Regions from separate parts of the Homo sapiens genome. Here regions 1 and 3 are each linked to region 2. The links are contacts of gene promoters, found by promoter capture Hi-C in human tissues and cell types (Jung and others, 2019). All regions are on one chromosome and are shown on one strand. The core of a region is centred on a gene start or on the middle of the fragment in contact, and the rest is flanking DNA. Distances in the headings are between cores, read along the strand shown.

Region 1 (2,921 bases), core at 67-2,566, 68 kb before region 2:
CTTTGGCTTTCCCTAATTTATGCCCTTATGCAAACTGTGACTTCGAGCACCTTGGGCTCTTGGCATCACCTAGCAGCTCCCAGCCTCCTCCTGATACCTTGTGACTCTGATTTTGGACCACAGCCTTGGACCTGGCTGCTGATTTTTTATTTTTAGTATCGACTTCGTGTGCCCTCAGGTTTCACTTTTGTTCTAGGCTGCTCAGCAAGGTACTTGTCTCTTTGTTCTAAGGAAGAGGTACTTCTGTCTGACTTTTGTTGAAAACTCCTTCCCTCTGCTCCTGATTCACATCCTCCAAGTTTTCCTGGTTCCTTCTCCCTGTGCCGCTGCTTGGAGTCTTCGGTTCCTCCCTGTGTCATCTTCTCTTCTCAGCCATTAAGTTGACCACTCCTCCCTTAGATGAAAAATAATAACACATCTTCCCTGCCTCTCCCTTACCATTCATCCCCTTCATCGGCAACACACTGAAAATACTTGTCCGAACCTGTGTCTCTCTGGCTGCCTATCCTCTCACACTCAGCTCACACTTGCCCACCTCTAGTTAGGGCTCCGCTAAAAAATATCCTGTGTGACCTTGTGCCATACCCTTGTCTTTGGATATCAGATACTCTGACAGATGATGCTTCCCATCTTCTGATTTTGGTTGGACCAAAAATCTTGTTTTTGTTTTTTTTTTAGACCAACTCTTGCTCTGTCATCCAGACTAGAGTGCAGTGGCGTAACCTTGGCTCACTGCAACCTCTGCCTCCTGGATTCACGTGATTCTCCTGCCTCAGCCTCCCGAGTAGCTGGAATTACAGGCATGGATGGCCACACCTGGATAATTTTTGTATTTTTAGTAGAGATGGGGTTTCACCATGTTGGCCAGGCTTGTCTCGAACTCCTGAGCTCAGATAATCTGCCCGCCTCTGCCTCCCAAAGTGCTGGGATTACCAGCGTGAGCCACCGCACCCGGCTCTGGACCAACAATCTTTAATGCCCCTTTCAGTTGTGTCTAAGACAGATGAACATGGTAAGGTTGGTTTTTGCTGTTAATCTCATTGCTTCATTTATAGTAATTCTCACTTAGATTAAAATTTTAAAGTAAAAAAAAATTCTAAAGGAAATTGTTCATAAGAAAAGGAATAAAAATGAGCATCATTTCTTGTAATGGAATGTAATACTATCGTATCTTGCTGTAATACTATGGGGTGCCTAATGCTTTGATATTTAGTATATTTCTGTGCCTGGAAGGCTGAAATTTGTATTCACTTTGTGATTTTAGTCAAATAAGAAAATGACATTTATTGATCTATTGGCCTGTTATAGCTGAATTTAAGGCAATAAAAAGAAAATGACAATAGTATATATTGTCTATAGAACAAATAAGAGAAAATGGGCTATCTTATTCTTACTTGAGTCTCAAATTATTTTATATTTTTCTAATTCTGCTCATGTGTATGTAAATATAGCTGACGATCACCAGGAAATAAGCTGGTTCTTAGTGAAAGTAACACATCAGATTTATGTTTGAGAATTATAGGCTAGAAAAATACATAATTCCTATGTTATGTAGAACAGTGAGGATTTTGCTTCTACAAGAACAAGTCTAATAGTATTTCTATTCTCTTCTTCCCTATCCCATTCCACTGGCTAAACTAGCTGTTTTCTAGTCAGTACCCCCAGGATGCTCTTCGGATTCTCTCGCTTCTGTCCTGGGGCAAAAGAGCCTTTACCTTTGGAACTTGAATAGGGAACATCTTGCTAACTCTTACATACACCATCCCTGTAAAAGTGGGCAGAAATCGCAGATGTCTAAAAGGGCAAAAGCTTTATAAGTGAGGAGGAATTCCAGAAACCTAAAACCGGAAGTAGGCAGTGTCGATATTTCTTGTATATAGTCTCTTTCAGAGCCAGTCCAGTGTAGAAATCTTCTCTCTAAAAGATGTCAGGCGGGTGGATCACGAGGTCGGGAGTTTAAGACTGGCGTGGCCAAGATCGTGAAACCCTGTCTCTATAAAAAAATACAAAAATCAGCCACGTATGATGGCGGGCGCCTGTAATCCAAGCTACTTGGGAGGCTGAGGCAGAGAATTGCTTAACCCGAGAAGGGGAGTTTGCAGTGAGCCAAGATCACGCCACTGCACTCCAGCCTGGGTGACAGAGCAAGACTCCATCTCAAAAAAAAAAAGATGTCAGGAGTAGGCATATGTGAGAACAGATTAAAGATAATGAAAATGTTTTACATTTGCATATTACTTTGTAATTTTATATATCATGTTGACTGCATTTAGTTATTTGACCAGTATGGGCCGTCACTCACCCCAGTTGAAGTTTTTGTTATATTTTGTGTATGGTTGTTTAAGGTGTTTTTTTTTTTTTAAATCAAAACAATATGATAGCACTTGAAAGCAGAATATGCCACTTTGGCATAAGGATTATTTTGAGCTGAAGGCAATTGAGAAGTAGATACAAGAAAAACTCTCTGCTCTGCTCTTATTTACCTAAAAAAGCAGGACCTAAATTTGTAAAGGCATCCTCCTTTCCCCTCTACCAAGAAGGACAAAGGTTTCTCAATGGAGATGACTTAGGTTCTTAGCCTGAAAATCAGTACCAGAGGAATTTACATAACAAACTTTACTAACCAGCCTTTATCCACCATATTTGCCTTCCCACAATTTGCTGCCTCTAAAGTTTCAAGATCCCTTTCTTTTGTCCTCTAATTTCTTCAAAAATTTATTGTTCTTTGTGAAGATGTTATATAAGCCAGAGTTCTAAGCCACCTGTTTGAGAACCACTGATTCTCTCTCTCCCATGTATATATGAGATATACATATTAATAACTTGTTTGTTTTTTTCTTGTTGATCTGTCTTATTACAGCAATTTCGCTGAAGATCTCAAAAGGTGATGATGATTCATTAACAAGATGGCTTGAATTGTT
Region 2 (3,137 bases), core at 290-2,789:
TCAGCTAGGTGTTGGAATGATTAATTGTACAATTCAGTTTTGTGTATTTTAAATGTTTTTCCTGATTACAAAAATAATATATATCCACTGTAGAAAATTTGAAAAATATTAAAAGGTACAAGAAAGGAAAGTCATCTATATACTCTACTATTACCCAAAGACAACTGCAAGGAGATAGTTTTATTCCTATGCAGTTGATTAATAATGCAGATGTCATTTTATTTTGTAACAAAATACAAATATTTTACATATTTGAGATTCTACACAGTTTTGCTTCAATAGTCTTTAGACACAACTTTAATGTGTTTAATGTCTATATGGTGTCCATGCTGTAGAGATGCCATAACTTATTTAACCATTCTCTATTTTGGAATATTTAGATTGTTCTGAGTCTTCATTATTTCATCTATACCGTGTGTGTGTGTGTGTGTGTGTGTGTGTCCCACATGTGTATGCACTATATTATACAACTACATGTATGTATATATAGATACCGTCTATGACCAGTCTTTGTAAGTAAGTGCCTCTCTGATTGTTTTTTCTTAGGACATATCACTGAATCAGAACAAATAAACCCTTTCAAGGTTCTTGAGACGTGTCGCTAAATTGCCTTTCCAGAAAGGGTGTACCAATTTTTATTTTCATCCACAAGCAGGCGGCTCGCTGACCCTCGCCCACATTTTTGTCACTTTAAAAAGAAGTGACAGTTGGGAAAGCTCAGTTTCTTCTGGCAGTTGACACATTTGGGATGTTTTTTCACCAAAAAACCTAAGGTCATGTTTTAGAAAATTCGAACTCAGAAATAGGACTTCTCTGAGACTCTCCTTTTCCCTCAAGTCCTTTTTGTGAGGGGGATGGGTGGGAGAGAGGAGACTGATTCAAGGAGCCTTCCAACTCTGATGTTCTGGTATTTTCACCGTCATTACTGGCACCAGATTGCTCAATCCTTCGACCAATAAGACAAAGAAGGAAAGTACTTCAGCGCTTGCTGTTTTGTAATACTGGCTTTGATTGGGAGAAAATAAGTGGGAAACAAGAGTAGCTTGGACAGGGGGCTTGGACGGCCAGCGCATTGACCAGAAGCGGCCCACACTACACGCGCGCGAACACACACACACACACACGCACACGCCGCGCGCGGTCAGCTAGAGTTTGGCTACTGGACCCAGGAAGGGAGGGAGCGGGAGGAGCTGGTGGCTGTCGGGTCGGGGTCTGGGCGCCACCGAGCGCCCGCCCCACCTCTGGAGTGCGCAGAAGGCGGTGCGTCCCGGGCCCCGGCAGCCCAGCCCAGGCGCTCTGGCCAAGTTTGCGCGCGGTCTCCGCTGACTCTCGGGTTACCTGAGCCGGCAACCACGTCAGCGCCACATCATCTGGGCTTTTTATATTGCAAGGAAACAGGAAAAGAAGGAAGAAAAACATCGCCCGAGAGAGCCAATCGCAGGAAGACGGCGCTGCCCGGAGGAGCGGGGCGGGCGGGCGCGCGGGGGAGCGGGCGGCGGGCGGGAGCCAGGCCCGGGCGGGGGCGGGGGCGGCGGGGCCAGAAGAGGCGGCGGGCCGCGCTCCGGCCGGTCTGCGGCGTTGGCCTTGGCGGCGGCGGTGGAGAAGATGCTGCAGTCCCTGGCCGGCAGCTCGTGCGTGCGCCTGGTGGAGCGGCACCGCTCGGCCTGGTGCTTCGGCTTCCTGGTGCTGGGCTACTTGCTCTACCTGGTCTTCGGCGCAGTGGTCTTCTCCTCGGTGGAGCTGCCCTATGAGGACCTGCTGCGCCAGGAGCTGCGCAAGCTGAAGCGACGCTTCTTGGAGGAGCACGAGTGCCTGTCTGAGCAGCAGCTGGAGCAGTTCCTGGGCCGGGTGCTGGAGGCCAGCAACTACGGCGTGTCGGTGCTCAGCAACGCCTCGGGCAACTGGAACTGGGACTTCACCTCCGCGCTCTTCTTCGCCAGCACCGTGCTCTCCACCACAGGTAGGGTATCCTGCGCGCCCCCTGGCCGCCCCGGCCACCTCGCCCACAACCCACACACCCCGGCCCCGGCGCCCCGGGCCCCTCTAACCCTCCCACCCCACCCCCCACCTTTCGCCATCCCGGCTCCTCCAGCCCGCCTCCCCTCACTGTCCTCCCGACCCTCCGACCTTCCCCTTACTGGCGTCCCCGGCCTCTGCCTGGGTGACTCGGGAGGGCAAGCCCTGCGGAGCCGGAAGCCAGAGAGGTGACTCCAGACGTGACTTGGTTGTTGCCGTCCGTAACTCTGGGGAAGTGGTCCCTAACTTCGGCCTGGGTGGCTGCAGGTGCTTCCTCCCCTTGAGTTCTTTTTTCGCAACCCACTAAGCCAAACTGTCGGGTTTGAATGTGTAGCAGCACCTGGCCGCCGTGCGGCAAGGCAGCGGGATGATGGAAACTCACCACCTTCCTCCCGCACCCATCCCAGAGGCCGAGGCTGCAGTCTGGTAATAATACCTTCTAAAGGGTCACCTTCCGGAGTGTGCCGTCCCTTTGGACCATGCACAGATATTCCAGCTCTTTTGTACCTTGGAGGCAGTTTTGGGGGTAGCCGAGTGACATCACTCTGCTCTTCCCAGGTGACCTCTGGGCGGACAGGCCGATCCGGTTTCTTTTCAGAGTAGGAGGAAGGGTGAGGGAGAGTAAAGGAACCATAGGATTGCCTAAGATCTGACTTAATTGGGGCACCCTGATTCAGCAGTTCCTTCAACTTGAGGTGTGCGAGGCTCCCCATAAACTTCGAAGCGCCACGTCCCCGTACGACTCACCCGCGGGGCGCCCGGCCATGGAGGAGCCTCCTCAGGTGAAAGATGAGGCCGGGCGCATGCCCCAGGGCTCGGTCACTGTGCCAGATCAGATGAATGAAGGCCGAATTTCCCCAGCCGGACCTAGTAAGGCACATACCCAGAGTGGAGATATCAATTGGTATTTGGACAGTGGGAGGAATCTGAAAGAGCGTTCAGCACAGTCCCTTCTTTTGATCTATGAGATCCAATCTTTGAAATAATCCATCTCGTCATGCACAAGGTCACACACTTCCTAGTTACCAGTGTCGTCCTGGAACCTGGGCCTTGTGATTTCTCTGCCAGGACCACTTTGTAACCCCCCACCCTCAACCTTTACAGGTGAATCACATCCCTTT
Region 3 (3,227 bases), core at 285-2,784, 81 kb after region 2:
CAGAGGTTACAGTGAGCCGAGATCTTGCCACTGCACTCCAGCCTGGGTGACAGTGTGAGACTCTGCCTCAAAATTAATTAATTAATGCCCACAACCTTTCCATGAGCTAAGTCATTGTCATTATCTCAGGGGTAAAGGCAAAAATGTTCCAAAAAACATAATATGTATTTAGTTTTATCCATAGAGATAAATGCTTGTGTGATACTGGCTTGTTCCGACGTGTTTAGAGTAAGCAACGTTTTTCTTGAGAGCTGCTTTCCTTCGGCATCCTTGACCATGTGGCCATCTCCAGGCTGAAGAAACAGAATCTGACTTTTTAGATCCTCCATTCAGCTACTTCCAACCAACTGCATGAAAAAGCTGTCTCCTTTTGTTCTCTTCAAGTGAGGCATTATTTTATTTCTCTGAGCAGCTCTCTCACCTCGTTACCTTTCATACTTCTTTACAACAATATACATTGCAATAAAATACAATTAAAACATCATTTGAGTGCTCCTACACTAGGTCTCTCAGCCTCTTTAAATGGATGCTTTCCTTAGGTAAAATTAAAAAATGCATGCCCTTTATTAATTAATTTTTTTTTTTTTGAGACGGAGTCTTGCTTTGTCACCAGGCTGGAGTGCAGTGGCGTGATCTCAGCTCACTGCAACCTCTGCCTCCCGAGTTCAAGCAATTCCCCTGCCTCAGCCTCCCAAGTAGCTGGGATTACAGGCATGTGCCACCAAGCCCAGCTAATTTTTTGTATTTTAGTAGAGACGGGGTTTTACCATGTTGGCCAAGATGGTCTCGATCTCCTGACCTAGTGATCTGCCTGCCTCGGCCTCCCAAAGTGCTGGGATTACAGGCATGAGCCACTGTGCCTGGCTAAAAATGCATGCCATTTAAAGTGCAACTTGAAGTTCAAACTGTATTATCAGGTCTAAAGATGAATAAGAGCAATGGGGCAGAGAGCATGTTTGCTTCCCAGCCACAGAAGTTTCTATGAGATTCCAATATACTGCCGAGGGGAAGAGATGTTTTCTCAGCACCACAACCCACTGCTTCACCCCACTTTAGTGAATTCTGAGGAGTACACTTTTCCACAGGGCATTCAAGGAGTGTTTATTGTCATGGTTTTCTATTTTTTTAAAAAAGAACTTCAGATGTGGCAGGAAGGAAGGCTTAAAGTTCCATCTGTCAGCTCCTGAAACCGCGTCATTTCTATTCTAGGACTAGACTTGGAATGGTTATGGCAGCTGCCAAAGAGCGTTTGATAAGGAGAGCCTATAACCTCAGCTCTTTATTAGCCTGGAAAGCCTGGGGTCTTGGAAGCTGTGAACTCACTTTGTTAGCTAACTGAGGGGACTCCAAACACTGCCTGGTCACCTCAGATATTTCTGCAACCCAGAGATGGGTGCTGCTGGATTGTCCCCCGGATTAATTCTGTTTCTGACTCAAGCCAAAGGGGTCTAACCTGGGGGAGAATCTCATTAATATTATGAAGACCCAGGGAAGCTTTTGGGAATGATGCGCAGACAATATCTGGGTAGGTAACATGCTTGTGATGTGGCTACAATAACCTAAAAGCTTAAATGTGGAGGAGATGTTGCAGGGCAAAGTCTTTTGAAATGTCCGGGGGCTCCCTCCCCGTGACTTCTGTCTACTCCTCCCTAGTGTTGGCTTCTAGTTAAAGAGCTCATTAACCATATATTTGATTTCTCAAACATGAATAAATCCACTTAGCAGCTTGCTCAAAACCTTTGTTGTAACTTTCTTTTCTCAAATTTAGACTGTCTCCTCACCTACTGAGAAGTTGTGACACTTTCATAATGAGAAGGGTGACTTAAATTTAGAATGAGGCACAATCTTAAGATACAGCGGATTCAATTCAGGCTTTGCCACAAGCTCCATGGGTGGTCTCACTATTTAATTTTTATTTTCCTCATTTCCAGATTTGTCTTCCCCACTGTTTTCTTTGTTATGAACTTTCACAGTCAATTGAGAATTCTGCATCCAGGAAAAAAATTTTATACAAGTACAATCATCCCTGGGTGTGCTCAGAGAAATGGGTCTGTGCAGTTCAAAACTGCTCTTTGAACAACAAAGTGCAACTGTACTTTTCCCTCTATTCTTCCCTCTAATTACCACCCTGGATGTTAAATATGAAATAAACATAAGAAGACGTCTTAAAGGTGGAGAGAGGAATGCAGACCAGCTATGGAACTCAGGGTCCAAGGAAGACACATCAAGCAAACAGCACAGAAAAAACTATGGTCCTACAGTGTCCATGATAGCAAAGACTGAGTGGGGAGCCTAGAGTTTGACCCTCACTAGGCTGTAATGAGGTATCCCCAATGTCCCTGTCTGGGTGGTATCAGAGAAGGCCAAATAGAGAGCTGGAAACTACTCACCATGTGGTAATGAGTCTCCACTTTCACCCCAGCCTACCTCCATACACACACAGTGTCAGTGCAACCTGACTTCAACTCCAGAGGCATCTTTTCCTCCTGCTGCGATGAAGTCAGAGAAGGCCTAGCAGAAAGTCAGGACTTTCAACCCTGCCCAGTGGTAATGGGACCAATCCCACCACAATGTCAGTGGAGAGCCATAATTCTCACCCTCCACTAGCAGTAACAACACCTTCCCCTGGGGAAGTGATGTCAGACATAGCCAACTAAAACAGAAGATTTAAATAAGATGCAGTTTCATGACATAATATTTAAAAAAATCATACCAAACGCAAGGAAGATCTCAAACAGAATGAAAAAGACAATTGATAGATGCCACCACCAACAAAACAGATGTTAGAATTGTCTGAGAAGGATGTTAAAGCAGCCACTAATTCAAAGTTTTGATGAGCAGTTATGAACATGCCTGGTCATAACTGAAAATGAAAAATAGAAAGTCTTAACCAAGGAGGAAACTGCCTCAACCTGATAAAGAGCATCTATAATAAGCCTACAACTAACAGTATACCTAATGATGAAAGACTGAAAGCTTTCCTCCTAAGATTAGAAACAAAGCAAGGGTGTCTGCTCTCACTGATTTTATTCATCATAGTACTGAAAACTCTAGCCAGTGCAATAAGGCAAGAAAAGGAAAGTAAATTCATACATATACAAAAGGAAGAAATAAACTGTTCATATTTGAAGATGACATTAATGTCTACATAGAAAATCCTAAAGATCACAAATGACCTAGAATCTTCAAACAAAAGAACAAATTTGAGCCCTTGTCTTACCCCATAT

What was found. Contacts are between HindIII fragments. The study calls those that stand out against the background at their distance.
Region 1: a contact is called between a fragment that was not itself captured here and the fragment with the promoter of KCNK1 in region 2, in 2 of the 25 tissues and cell types used here (dorsolateral prefrontal cortex and liver).
Region 3: a fragment that was not itself captured here is called in contact with the fragment with the promoter of KCNK1 in region 2 in 2 of the 25 tissues and cell types used here (heart left ventricle and liver).

What each region holds. Positions count from the first base shown.
Region 1 is chr1:233,544,363-233,547,283 of GRCh38, forward strand. No RefSeq gene overlaps it. Among named protein-coding and RNA genes, the nearest start is that of KCNK1, 68 kb to the right of the region's middle. The HindIII fragment of the contact is 6,746 bases long and covers 1-2,921 here.
Region 2 is chr1:233,612,567-233,615,703 of GRCh38, forward strand. KCNK1 (potassium two pore domain channel subfamily K member 1) reads left to right here and starts at 1,540. Exons shown (of 3, transcript NM_002245.4): 1 at 1,540-1,960. The coding sequence starts at 1,606. RefSeq lists enhancers at 666-1,318, 2,507-2,566 and silencers at 1,107-1,206, 1,567-1,636, 1,977-2,036. The HindIII fragment of the contact is 20,351 bases long and covers 1-3,137 here.
Region 3 is chr1:233,693,136-233,696,362 of GRCh38, forward strand. No RefSeq gene overlaps it. Among named protein-coding and RNA genes, the nearest start is that of MIR4427, 71 kb to the left of the region's middle. The HindIII fragment of the contact is 4,410 bases long and covers 1-3,227 here.